Regions from separate parts of the Homo sapiens genome. Here regions 1, 2, 4 and 5 are each linked to region 3. The links are contacts of gene promoters, found by promoter capture Hi-C in blood cells and fetal thymus (Javierre and others, 2016). All regions are on one chromosome and are shown on one strand. The core of a region is centred on a gene start or on the middle of the fragment in contact, and the rest is flanking DNA. Distances in the headings are between cores, read along the strand shown. Region 1 has its middle 31 kb from the start of LINC02944. Region 2 overlaps FAM204A (family with sequence similarity 204 member A). Region 3 holds the start of EMX2 (empty spiracles homeobox 2). Region 4 overlaps CASC2 (cancer susceptibility 2). Region 5 has its middle 18 kb from the start of LINC02944.

Region 1 (2,700 bases), core at 193-2,692, 730 kb after region 3:
TCTTGCTATGTTGCCCAGGCTGGTCTGGAACTCCTGGCCTCAAGTGATCCTCCCTTCTCAGCCTCCCAAAGTGCTGGGATCTTATTTCTCTTTAAAAATAACCCAAGTAACACCCAATTAATACGATGTGTTTTGCTGGTTGGAGAAAGTGTTTCTGTCACTAAATTGGGCATAGGCCACCTTTGCAAGGCAGTCCCTCCTTTACTGTCCAAGTGAGCAGAGACACAGAAGGCTGGGTGTAGACCCAACAGCCTGGTGTCCCCCACCTCCTCTGGGGCCCCCTCCACGCAGTTCCAAAAGCCGTCTCCATGGCCTGCTTGTTTAAGGTAATTACAACATGCACTTCCTCCCTGCTGCTTCTGCTGAGGCAGAAAATACTTCATCATTTACTTCAGTCATGAGAATAAAGCCAAAAAATCTGGAACATAAACACCATTTTTTCTTTGCATTCAAAGGCCAAGCTCAGGGTGAGTTTGTGAATAATAAACCCAAGTTGGCAATCAAGCTAATAAGTATGAAGTTGCTGGGGAGAGAAGTCCTCCGCGAGCTGGGAGCTGAGGGTGTACCCAGGGCTTTTTGTTCCCCTGTTGGTAAATAACAGCCCTTTATTTACACACAGTTGTTTCGGCTTCAAAAGATATTCAAAGCCCAGCTAGTTTCTGCAGTTGCTTTACATGGAAAGGAATATATATGTGAATTTTTAAAGAGATTGAGCCCCAATTAAATCTATGCTGCCCGGAGAGAGTTGCAGGCGAGTCAGCCTGAGATCCAAGGGGGAAAAGAGGCGCATGTGATTAGCAGGCAAGCCAGGGTTGTAAACATAGGCGCTTTCTTTCTGAAATGGGAATTGCCCGCAAGAAAGTATTCATCTGCAGCCTCGAGCTTAGAGAAATTCCAGGGCCAGGCGCCTTTTGGTTTAAGAACAGAACTTTGAACTCTCCATTTCAAAAACTGAATTTCTCCTCCCCCTGGTTAGGAAAAGCATCCGATGCCGAGCGTCTCCATTCAAGCTCTCCAAACTTTCAGCATTTTTTCATTTGAAGCTTGTAGCCATACAAACCTCTGGTAATGAGTTCCCTGCCCGAGACAAGTTCTGCATCCAGTTTGTGCGCCGGCCCAGTGAAACAGTTTACAAGTCTGAGAGTCCGAGGGGGCGGAATCCAAAGGAAATCTCCAGAAAGGAATGAAGAGCTATCATGGAAATCTTTATTTATGTGAAGAGAAAGAGCTAAAACATTACCTCAGAATGCAAGATTACAACATCAGTCGGATAGAAAGTAAATCTATTCTAGTGGTGAGACATCAGAAACCCATAATCCTTTCTCAAAGCCCTTTTGTTATTTTAATGTCCGACAAATTATGCTTTTTTTTTTTTTAAAGAAGAAAAACACTTAGATTTGAGAGGTTTCCTTTTTTCCCGAAAAAGTAATTTCACTACCTAAAAGTTTTAATTTTCTGTAACCTGGTCTTTACTGTGCTGGCCGAGCATACGTACAAGACCATGGTAATTTTCAGCTTCAATAGAACTGGGCACAAAGTGACCACCAGGATCGGCCTCAAGTTGCTATGGCAACAGTATTTCTAAAAGGTGCTGAAGTTATGTGGGGCATTTTTGTTTGCTAATTTTAAATTTTGCCTTTATAGTTTTTTAAAACAGATACATATGGATGAGTAAATTGCAATACTAACTCTTTTCTTCCTCTTTATGTCACTCATGTCATAGGGATCCTGACTATCTTGTAAATGACTTTGTAAAGAATTCACTAAGAAATAGAAAAAGAGTCAAAGAAAATTGGACAAATGACAAAAAAAATAAAAACCAAATTCATCCTGTTTTTTCTAGAAGCTTTTCAGTGGGAAATTCTCTCAAGAGATCCTTGAGAAGGGGCCAGGCCTGGAAGAAATGGGGCTTCCATGTGCCAGACCCTGGCTTGGTGCAGAGGTGTAAAGATGAGAGAGTTCACGTCATGCTCAGGCCACGGGCTCTGTCAGGCAAAAAAAAAACAAAAAAACTAAAAAACAAAAAAAAAAATCCTCGCCCTCATGGAGCAAAAATGTGAGGGAGTCACACAAAAGCCACAGTAAATGATTAGATAGATGATAGATAGATAGATAGATAGATAGATAGATAGATAGATAGATAGATAGATATAGATAGATAGATAGATGACAGATAGATAGATGACAGATGATAGATAATAGATGATAGATAGATAGATAGATAGACACATACATACATACATACATACATACATACATACATGGGTGGATGAATGGATAGATGGATGGATAAATGGATGGATGGAAGATAGATAGATAGATACATGGGTGGATGAATGGATAGATGGATGGATAAATAATAGATGGATGGGTAGATAGAAACATGGATGGATGAAAGCATAGATAGATGGATAAATAGGCAGACGGATGGATGGATGGATAGATAGATAGATAGATAGATAGATAGATAGATAGATGATAGATATAGATAGATCCATAGATACATAGATAGACACATAGATAGGTGGATGGATGGATAGATAAATTAATAGATGATAGGTGGATAGAGAGATGGGTGATAGGCAGACAGATGGTAGGAGAGATAGAGCTGGATAGATGGATGATGGATAGATAGATAGATAGATAACAATAGTGTGTCAGAAGATAACAAGTGCTGTGAAAAAACAAAACAAAACAAAA
Region 2 (2,700 bases), core at 43-2,542, 770 kb after region 3:
ATAGGCCGAAAAGAATCCCCCTTCCACTTCCATAAAAAGAAAAATGCATCTTCATGCTCAATGTAAACATCACAAAAGCTTGGTCAATGGTTTAATATTTAAAAAATGGTTTTGGGTCATCAGATAACTATAGCAACACAACGTGGAAAGAAATTTTTTTAAATGAATAAAATATATACAAAATTTCTTGTATGTGTAGCCAAAGTATCAGCATTTTCCATATAGAACATCCAATATTTTGCTGCATTTTAATTAAGGTGTCTAAACATTATCACAAAGAACTGCAAATTGGTCAGAGCATGCAGTAAGGAAAATTAAGCTCTAAAGGCTTTTTATCACCATATTTCAGGAACCAAGGGTGTAAAATGTTCTAATTTGGGATATATTAAAAGCCATAAAAGGTCTTTCAAAAAGATTAATGGTACTTTGCTTGGATTTAAGATAAGGGCTTTAGCTGGTTGGAAAAGCAGGGCCCTGGCTGGACCCTTGAGGCATTCATCTTTACAGCCACTTGGAAGATTTGTAAAAGCGTCTGCATAACCTCAAGCAAATGCACGGCGACATTTTTTTAATTCCTTTCAATTTTACAGGTTTAGCGTGTGTAAATCATATTGGGTTGTAAAATAGATATAATGGCACATCCTTGCAACACAGTACAGATTTTTAAAAGACAAACTTCAAAATAAAGTTAGTTTTTCTTGCAAAATCTTGTCATTATAAAGTTTGCTGATAATCATTTGAAGTATCTGATTCAAACCGCTTAATCTAGCATAACTGTAAATTTCTTATCCGTTTCAGAGTAAATTTTACTCATCTCAAAATTACTAGCTTGTAACAGATTTATAAAGTTTTCCTCCCTTTTGAACACTTTCAAGGCACTTATTTAAAAATACCAATTATCATACTTTAACTTTTTATGGAATAATAGGTCTCTATGAAAAATATTTATGCCATTCTCTTTTGTTCTTTAATTAAATGAAAACAGATGTTTTCTGAAGTAAAGCGGAACCATTACTGGAGTACTTAAAGTGTTAAGGTCTTTAATTTTTATATCAGTTTGGTCGACAATTCTTGATTGTCTTTACTCAAGCTCAACATTAATGTCAAGCAAGTTACCTAGGAGACGAAAGAGATCAAAGAGACAAAAACCCCTCCAATGTCTGATTAATCAAGCCTGCAAACAGCTTATTTCTTTTAGCCTGCATGCAAGTATGAAAATGAGATTCTGGGAGCCGAACATGGTGCAGATTTGTTCATTCTTATCAGAACAAAGCCAGCGGCAGCTTATTTCATGGATCATTGGCACTGTCATCAGTGCTACACAGAACGGGTGACAGCTCCTCATTTTGAGGCTTGAACAAAATTAGCAAAAAGTCGGCACAAATTAGCCTCTCATCTTTTTAGTAATATGACATTATTCATTTACTTTTTATCCAATTTTTAATTTTTTCCTTGTCAGCTATCCCTTTCTAGTGTCTCTTGCATGGCATCATAAAATGCCTTCCAAAAAACAAGCAAAGAAATAGCCAAAGTTGAAATAACATACAAAGTTCAAGAAGCAAATAAGAAAAAGTACTTCCAATGACTGGTAACACTGTGTTTTTAAAAAATAACTTTCGAAACTCTGCATTAATATTGATTTTTAAAAAACAGCTCACAATGCCTTGCAGTGAAGGAGTTTTAAGAAACTGGTGGTATATTTCAACAAAGAATATAATGTGACCAATGTGTTTCACTCAAACCACAATTTAATATATTATGTGCTCTAGTAAATTCAAGACATCTACATTTGAACTGGTACCTTTCCCTCCATGGTCACACCTGAGATGCCAAAGCCCTGGTGAAGCAAATAAGCTAGGCCATATCCAGTCACTTAACTCCTTCTTTAAATCAAATCATTTTCTGTCCTAAGAAATATAACCTAACTTCACTGTCATCTTAAAATGTGCATGCACAGGTTTGCATATGTTTGCACGTTTGTATACTACATGTATCTATATATATGTACGATCGTTTACACAGCTATCATTTATTTTTATACCTACAACTCCTATCACTTTATTTCAAAGCATAACCCAACAAATCCTGTTTTTAAAACACATCAAATAGATATATATACAAATATCTTTTATATGTGTATATCCACATATCATTCATATATGTGTGTATATGTGCATATATGATTCATATACTCTGATTTCATAGTGAAATCATTTACATAACACCTGTTTTAATGATGACTATTAAGGCTTCAAATTATATGTGGATTACAGTATTCCAAAGGAGGGAGAAGATGATGTTCTACTGTTGAAATTACTCCTGGATACAGACGTTTATATTCAAGCAACTTATGCCATTCATAAGGGGAAAAAAGCATTAAAAAATTAACCATAAGCTGTTAGATGCTTTACACAGCCCCCATAAGAAAGACAGTTTTTTAAAGAACTGTAGTACTGTTTTCAGCAATTTCTTTATCTCTGTTCTTCTAAGTAAGAAAGCCTATTAACAAGCTTTGAACTTAAAATCACATTTACAATAATGTGCCATCAACAGTTTTATAAGCTAATTAGAAAAAGATTAATTAATGACTGGCTGCTAATAAAATGGCAATCATGAAGAAAGAAACCAAGGGTGCTAAGCTTCAACTACCACCAATTAAGAGCTAATTACAAACAAATTATATATGTGTTTTGCTGTGGG
Region 3 (2,700 bases), core at 118-2,617:
ATAAACAGAGAGCAGCGCCAGCAGCCTGGGGATGTGATCATAATTATGCCGCCGCGCGAGCCAATGGGGACGAGGGAACTCGGTCCTAAAATCATCCCAAAACCGAAGGCGAGCTCGAAAATGCGGACACGGCCCGGGACCGGAGATGCGATCCGTAGTCGTTAGTTGCACTGGGTTTGCACAGCAACCACCACCCCCCCACCAACCCCGGGACAACAGATGGCATAATAATAATAATAGAAATAATAATAATAAAATAATATCATCTATAATAATAATAACATTGACCACACTGACAAAAATAATTACGACGGAACCTTAATAGTACAGTAGCACCATATCGGGCTCTCCCCTGACCTTGGACTGCCGGTCCCAGATATTCCAGAAGGAATTGTTTTGGGGAAGGAGGTGAGCACCCTCCCAGACAGAAAACGCTAGAGACCGTGGGGCGAGAGAGGGAGAGAGTTGGAAGCCCACTGCTCCGGCGGGGTCGGCAGCTCCCGGTCTCAACTCGCAAACGAACGAGCCGGGTCAAGAATCGCGAACGCACCGACCCTGGGACCTCGAGGCTAAGCGTGGTTGATGGGGTGGGAGGACCCCGTACCCCTCACTCCAGGATCCCTCCTGGCCTAGGAAACCGCTGGGAGTTTTGCTAAGTGTGGGGATTGGTATAACCGAACGGCGCCTTTAGCCCGGGAACCAGCCCCTGCCCGCTTACCCTCGCGGTGCTCTTGGGGCGATCCCAGTTCTCCCGACGCGGGGCCGCGTAAGGCAGCAGCGGCGGAGCGCTAGGCTAGAGGAATCTGTCTGTCCTTCTGTCCTACCAGCTTGGGCGAGGCAGGCTCGGGATTCAGGGGGCCGCAGCGGAGGCGGCGCCGGCCAGGGACTCTGCAGGGACCGGGGTGCCCCGGAGGGAGTGGTGCTGGTGGAGGAGGAGGCGGTGGCTGAGGGGGAGTAGGTGGGGAAAGAGGAGGAGGAAGAAGAGGAGGAGGAGGAAGAAGAGGAGGAGGAGGAGAAGAAGAAACTGGAGGAAGAGGAGGAGGCGAAGGAGGAGGAGAAGCCGCAGCGGGCGCCGCAGGAGCGAGTGAGCTGGGAGCGAGGGGCGAAGGCGCGGAGAAGCCCGGCCGCCCGGTGGGCGGCAGAAGGCTCAGCCGAGGCGGCGGCGCCGACTCCGTTCCACTCTCGGCCCGGATCCAGGCCTCCGGGTTCCCAGGCGCTCACCTCCCTCTGACGCACTTTAAAGAGTCTCCCCCCTTCCACCTCAGGGCGAGTAATAGCGACCAATCATCAAGCCATTTACCAGGCTTCGGAGGAAGCTGTTTATGTGATCCCCGCACTAATTAGGCTCATGAACTAACAAATCGTTTGCACAACTTGTGAAGAAGCGAACACTTCCATGGATTGTCCTTGGACTTAGGGCGCCCTGCCCGCCTTTTGCAGAGGAGAAAAAACTTTTTTTTTTTTTTGCCTCCCCCGAGAACTTTCCCCCCTTCTCCTCCCTGCCTCTAACTCCGATCCCCCCACGCCATCTCGCCAAAAAAAAAAAAAAAAAAAAAAAAGAAAAAAAAAGAAAAAAAAAGAAAAAAAATTACCCCAATCCACGCCTGCAAATTCTTCTGGAAGGATTTTCCCCCCTCTCTTCAGGTTGGGCGCGTTTGGTGCAAGATTCTCGGGATCCTCGGCTTTGCCTCTCCCTCTCCCTCCCCCCTCCTTTCCTTTTTCCTTTCCTTTCCTTTCTTTCTTCCTTTCCTTCCCCCCACCCCCACCCCCACCCCAAACAAACGAGTCCCCAATTCTCGTCCGTCCTCGCCGCGGGCAGCGGGCGGCGGAGGCAGCGTGCGGCGGTCGCCAGGAGCTGGGAGCCCAGGGCGCCCGCTCCTCGGCGCAGCATGTTCCAGCCGGCGCCCAAGCGCTGCTTCACCATCGAGTCGCTGGTGGCCAAGGACAGTCCCCTGCCCGCCTCGCGCTCCGAGGACCCCATCCGTCCCGCGGCACTCAGCTACGCTAACTCCAGCCCCATAAATCCGTTCCTCAACGGCTTCCACTCGGCCGCCGCCGCCGCCGCCGGTAGGGGCGTCTACTCCAACCCGGACTTGGTGTTCGCCGAGGCGGTCTCGCACCCGCCCAACCCCGCCGTGCCAGTGCACCCGGTGCCGCCGCCGCACGCCCTGGCCGCCCACCCCCTACCCTCCTCGCACTCGCCACACCCCCTATTCGCCTCGCAGCAGCGGGATCCGTCCACCTTCTACCCCTGGCTCATCCACCGCTACCGATATCTGGGTCATCGCTTCCAAGGTACGTGCCACGTCGCGGAACTGCAGCGCGCCGCTCCCGCCGCATCCTTCACTGCCCCCGGCCTGCTCCGGGTGGGCGCTTGGCAAGGCCTGGGCGGAGGTTCCTCCGGCTCGCGGGCCAGCGCGCCCTGTTGGGAAACTAGGCGGCGCGGGGCCGGGCGTGGTGTCGATCCCCAGTCTCCGAAGCTACGACTGGTTTGGAGTGATGGCCTGCGGGCCGCTTGACCCTTTGGGAAGGGGTGCGAACGGAGAAGTTGTCCCCCAGTGCGCTCGAATCAGAGCAGGCTGGGCTGTGCGTGCCCGGCGCCGCGGAGCCCAGAGCCCGCGGGATCCCCAGGCTCCTGGTACCCTCGGCAATGCCCCCAACCGTCCTGGCTCCGAGGGGCGCGGACAGGACTCGGCCGCC
Region 4 (2,700 bases), core at 133-2,632, 650 kb after region 3:
TCTCTTTCTCCAGGGAAGCACCTCCACACTCTTGCTTATCTCTGAGCTGCTGGTGGATACGTTACCTGGACTCTAAGAAATGCTACAGTTTGTTTTTGTCTGATCTTTAAAAAATTTTTCCTCCCAACTTATTTGTCCTTTTGGCTTAGAGGTGGACATGCCCAGCAGGGTGCGTTTACCCTGCTGATCTGTGAGCTATTTTCACCCTTCTCGGTGAGTGCGTTTTTTCTACTCTGATGCCAGTCTCATCCCCTGAGGATGGCCCATGGAAAATCACCCCTTCTCAGAAACCTGCTTTCCACATGAGCTGTCTAGTGGGAATCTTGGACTGGGAGCTTCATAGGTTCTCCAGCTGCCCCTACTCCCATCTTGAAGGCCTGCCCAGAGCAGATGTTCTGGAAATATGTGATGCAGGAATGTAACAGTTCAATTCTCTCATTGAGAAGATGAAGAAACTTAGATTAAAAAACAAACAAACAAAATACCTTGTCACACAGAGGGTTGGTGACAAAGATGAGAAATGACAAAAAACGGGAAATGGGAAACAGATAAATACCGATTCTTTCCAGTATCAATTTGGGAGTAGAAACAGCCTATATTGAACAGTCTCCAAATAACTAGGAAGAAAAATGTAATTAAAGCTTTTATTCTCAAATTGTAAAATCTGTGAAGAACTGGTCAGACTTTCTGCTTCTTTTTTAAAAAGATTTATTTTCCTCTTAATACAAAAGTTCAATAGCCACATAAAAATTGGAAATGTGAGAGTAACATAAAGAAGGAAAACAAATTCAGCTATACATTTAGAATCCCAAAGAAAACTATTGTCAACTTCTTGCTGCATTCAAATGTAATCTTTATTTAACATGTTTTTTCTTGTAAAAACACTTCTTAACAAAACAGTTGTAATCATACTGTGATTTTGTGTACTTTTTGTTTTTTATTTTTAATATTATAATATTTTCCCCTAGTTCTCCAAGTTATTATGAAATCTTTATAAATAGAATTTATATGGTTGTATAATTTTTCAGGAAATTGATATAACAATAACATAAAGATCCCTTGTGGTTCAATTTTACATTGTTTCCAAGACTACCTTATTAAAAGTATTATTGCCATGAATATCTTTGTGGGAAAGAAGGTGGATTTCCATTTTTGGAACTTTTTTCCTTAGGATGGATTCCCAGTCGTAGAATTACTGCATCAATATCAGGTCCATTTTCAAGGCTCAGGTTGTTTGTTATGTGAAATCCACATTGCCAAATTGTTGTCCAAAAGAATAATATAAATGTATATGCTCACTAGCAATATGTGAGAGACTATTTTATCATACCTTAATGAACATTGTTTTTATCATTTAAAAATATTTCCAGCCATGAACCTGTAGTCCCAGCTACTCAGGAGACTGAAGTGGGAGAATGGCTTGAGGCCAGGAGGTCAAGACTATGGTGTGCCATGATACCACCGGTGAATAGCTACTGCACCAGTAGGTTGTCCACCTTGGGCAACACAGTGAGACCCTGTCTCTAAAAAAAAAATTTAATATTTCCTAATTTGTAAAGTAAAAATTGATATATTTGAGTTGCTTTAATTTCCATTTTCTCAGTTCTCCATGAGGATGAACATTTTCTCATTTAAAATACTGGTCATATTTTTATTATTTTTATTTTTATTTTTATTTTTGAAGTGGAGTCTCACTTTGTCATCCAGGCTGGAGTGCAGTGGCGTGATCTCAGCTCACTGCAACCTCCACCTCCCAGGTTCAAGCGATTCTCTTGCCTCGACTGACCAAGTAACTGGGATTACCGGTGCGGGTGCCACCATGCCTGGCTAATTTTTGTATTTTCAGTAGAGACAGGGTTTCACCATGTTGGCCAGGCTGGTCTCAAACGCTTGACCTCAAGTGATCTGCCCGCCTTGGCCTCTCAAAGTGCTGGGATTACATGCATGAGCCACCTCACCCAGTCTATATTTTTATTATTTTTAAAATTTGTGTGTGACCTTGCCTGTTTATCTGTTAGAATATCAGTGTTTTTGTGTCAATTTATATTAACTTTGTATCTATTATAGATATAATTTTTATATCTGTTGCAAATATACTTTTCCAGTTTTTGTTTGGCTTTTTAAAAGCTTCATGAAAATACAATAAATTGCACACAAAGTGCAAAATTAGACAAAGTTGAACCTACACCATCAACACAATCAAGACAATGAACTTATTCATCGCCCTCAAAAGTTTTCTTTGACTTGTTCATTCCCCATCCCCAGGTGACCACTGTTCTGCTTTCTGACACTAAGTTTTTCTAGAATTTATGTTAGTGAAATCATATAATGTGTACTCTCATTTTGTTGATACTCTTTCACCTAGCATTATTAATTTCGGATTCAATCACGTTGTTGTGTCTAACAATAGTTCATTCTCTTTTTCATTGCTGAGTAGTATTCCATTGTATGGTTTTGCCAATTTATTTATTCATTCCCCTGTTAATGGACATTTTGTTTCCAGATCTTTGCTATTGCAAATGAATATGCTATGAGCATATTGTATAAGTCATGTACAAGTCTTCCTGTGGACATGTGCTTTTGTTGCTCTTGGATAAATGATACCTAGTAGTGGAATGGCTGGATCATATAGTAAGTGGATATTTAATGTTTTCAGAAACTGGCAAACTGTTTTCCACATCAATTATACCATTGTATGAG
Region 5 (2,700 bases), core at 82-2,581, 680 kb after region 3:
GCAAGATTCCTAGTAGGATCAAATAGGATAACAGATGAGGAATTACTTAAGAAACTATAAAGAACTCTAAATATAAGGGAGCATTGTTTTTATTTAGTAAGGGTTTTAAACAGTCTTAACGATTGAAGACCTCTTTAAAAGAATTTGCTGAGTATTTATCTCCATCCCTCACATCTAAGTTCACTTTATTTTGGCTGTATTTGTTTTACTTCTGTGCAACCTGCATCTTTGAAATTATTATTGAAAGTAAAATATTTATTTTCTTTAAAAATAAAGATAAGTGGGAACTTCAGCTTCTAGAAAAATGAAGCAGATGTACTTTTCCCTATTTTTTCTTCTAAATACAACTAAAAATCCTGAGCATTATATACAAAACAAATATCAGAAAGCTCTGAAAGGTGGATGGGGAGGGAGGAAGATGGGCCAGGAGCCAGGAGACCTGACGAACAACACAATGATGAGCTATATGGATTTTCTTTTTGATTCATGTATCCCAGACTGAATGCTGGAAAAGCCAGCAACCTAGAAATGCAAATAGGTACAGACAAAAAAGCCTTAGCAAAAACCTGCTGTCTCTAGCAAACGGACAAGGTAAGGGGTGGCCTACCAAGAAAGAACACTTTTGGTGAACAATCACTCCGCTACAGCATCACAGAAAACGTGGAAGTCCAGGTTTACCACTTGGCCTTTGCTGTCATGGATGGGGATGGGGCCCATTCCCACCAGGCTGCAAGGAAAACACCCAAAATCCACCCCCATCCCCACTGGAGTGGTGTTAGAGATGGCTATGTAGCTGGGACTTTCATCCCTGCCAGGTGATAAGGAGCTCCCCCACCCCCAACCCCATCATGTCCATGTGAAATCAGTGAAGGCCATATGGGAAGCCTGAACTTTAGCCCCCACTTAAGAGTAATGAAATGCCCCTATTCCCTGACTCCATTGGAATGGTATCAGAGGGGACCTGAATAATCAGGAATTGGAGACCACCACACCCTGGGGTGTCAATAGTGGCCTAATGAGGAATGAGAACTCTCACACATACTAGCCCTAACAAGGAACCTCTCCCCTCCAAGTTGGGTATCAACAGAGGCCAAGAGGGAACTGGATTTCCACCCCTACCTGACCAATAGGAGGTGAGGCCCTCTCTTCAAAATGGTTCATCATTCCAAGAATCAGGATGATCTCAAACTGAGTGAAAAAAGTCAATTAAATGCCTACACTGAGATGATAAAGATATTCAAATTATCTGACTAAGATTTTAAAGCAGCCATGATGAGAATGTTTTGCTGGGCAATTATGAACAACATGAAATGAATAAAAAAATAGAGTCTTGGCCAAGCAATACAAAATAAATATAAAGAAAAACCAGATGGGAATTTCATAACTAAAAATATAATAACAAATTTAAAACTCTATAGGTAAGCACAAAAGCAAAATGAGGGAAAAGAGGAAAGAATCAATGGATTTGAAGATAGAACAATAGGATTACCTGACCTGAACAAAGGAGAAAAATTAGACAGAAAATAAATGAGCATAGCTTCAGAGTCATATGGAACACTGATAAAAGATCTAATATTTGTGCCACTGGAATTCCAGAAAGACAGGAAAAAGAGAATGAAGTTAAAAAAAAAAAAGTACTGGAAGAGTGACTGACTGAAAACATCCCAAATTTGGCTAAACACATAAATTTTATGTTCAAGAAACAGAGTGAACTCAAAACAGAAGGGCCCCAAAGAAATCTACATCAAGACACATCATAGTCACACTTCTTAAAACTAAAGATAGATTTTAAAATCCTGAAAGCAATGAGAGAGAAACAATACCTTACATATAGGAGGAAAACAATGCTAGTGGTAATGAAATTCTTAACAGAGACCACGGAGACCAGAAGGAAGTGGCATAACCTTGATCAACTGCTGAAAGAAAATAACTGTCAACACAGAATCCTATATCCAGAAAAAATATTCCTCAGGAATGAAGGGAAAATCAAAACATTTTCAGATGGAGAAAAACTAAGAGAATTTGTTGCCAGCAGACCTACCCTAAAAGAATAGCTAACAGAAGTTTTCTAAACAGAAAGAAAATGATAAAGGACTCTTAGACTATCAGCAAGAAGGAAAGATTATGAAAAGCAAAAATATGGGAGACTTCATTTCTCTTTTTGAGTCTTTTAAATTATGTTTGATGATTGGAGCAAAAATTGTAATACTGTCTAATGTGGTCCCAAATATACTAAAGAAAATATTTAACACAATTTTATTATACGGGGAAGGATAAATGGACATAAAGGGAAATAATGTTTCTACACATCACTTAAACTAGTAAAAAGATCACACAGGTAGACTGATAAGTTATGTGTATATAATATAATATCTGGAGTGACCACTTAAACAGCCATAAAAAGAGATATATTAAAAACACTTCAGATAAATCAAAATGGAATTCCAAAAAAATGTTCAAGTGAAACACAGGAGGTCAGGAAACAGAAAACAAAAATGAAAAACAGTGGGAGAATCAGAAATAAAATAAAGTGGCAAATGTAATGCCTAATAAGCCAATAATAATTTTAAATGTAAATGGTGTGCATACACCAATTAAAAGACCCAGACATTGGCAAAGTAGATTTAAAAATATCACCCAAGTATATCTTGTCCATAAGAAATTTACTTCAAATATAACAAAGTACGTAAGTTGAAAGTA

Evidence for each region. The method cuts DNA at HindIII sites, captures the fragments that hold promoters and counts their contacts. A CHiCAGO score of 5 or more calls a contact.
Region 1: a contact is called between a fragment that was not itself captured here and the fragment with the promoter of EMX2 in region 3, in 2 of 17 cell types (endothelial precursors and M2 macrophages). The highest score is 6.7, in endothelial precursors.
Region 2: a fragment that was not itself captured here is called in contact with the fragment with the promoter of EMX2 in region 3 in 1 of 17 cell types (endothelial precursors); the score reaches 6.0 in endothelial precursors.
Region 4: a contact is called between a fragment that was not itself captured here and the fragment with the promoter of EMX2 in region 3, in 2 of 17 cell types (non-activated CD4 T cells and activated CD4 T cells). The highest score is 5.7, in non-activated CD4 T cells.
Region 5: a contact is called between a fragment that was not itself captured here and the fragment with the promoter of EMX2 in region 3, in 6 of 17 cell types (total CD4 T cells, non-activated CD4 T cells, activated CD4 T cells and 3 more). The highest score is 7.4, in total CD4 T cells.

Annotation. Positions count from the first base shown.
Region 1 is chr10:118,271,413-118,274,112 of GRCh38, forward strand. No RefSeq gene overlaps it. Among named protein-coding and RNA genes, the nearest start is that of LINC02944, 31 kb to the left of the region's middle. The HindIII fragment of the contact is 803 bases long and covers 1,042-1,844 here.
Region 2 is chr10:118,314,586-118,317,285 of GRCh38, forward strand. The region is part of intron 7 of FAM204A (family with sequence similarity 204 member A); the gene reads right to left. Among named protein-coding and RNA genes, the nearest start is that of FAM204A, 26 kb to the right of the region's middle. RefSeq lists an enhancer at 1-1,599. The HindIII fragment of the contact is 2,432 bases long and covers 77-2,508 here.
Region 3 is chr10:117,541,379-117,544,078 of GRCh38, forward strand. EMX2 (empty spiracles homeobox 2) reads left to right here and starts at 1,368. Exons shown (of 3, transcript NM_004098.4): 1 at 1,368-2,295. The coding sequence starts at 1,890. It also overlaps EMX2OS. RefSeq lists an enhancer at 2,583-2,700. The HindIII fragment of the contact is 6,949 bases long and covers 1-2,700 here.
Region 4 is chr10:118,193,489-118,196,188 of GRCh38, forward strand. All of the region lies in intron 3 of CASC2 (cancer susceptibility 2), which reads left to right. Among named protein-coding and RNA genes, the nearest start is that of LINC02944, 47 kb to the right of the region's middle. The HindIII fragment of the contact is 1,486 bases long and covers 640-2,125 here.
Region 5 is chr10:118,222,556-118,225,255 of GRCh38, forward strand. No RefSeq gene overlaps it. Among named protein-coding and RNA genes, the nearest start is that of LINC02944, 18 kb to the right of the region's middle. The HindIII fragment of the contact is 4,713 bases long and covers 1-2,700 here.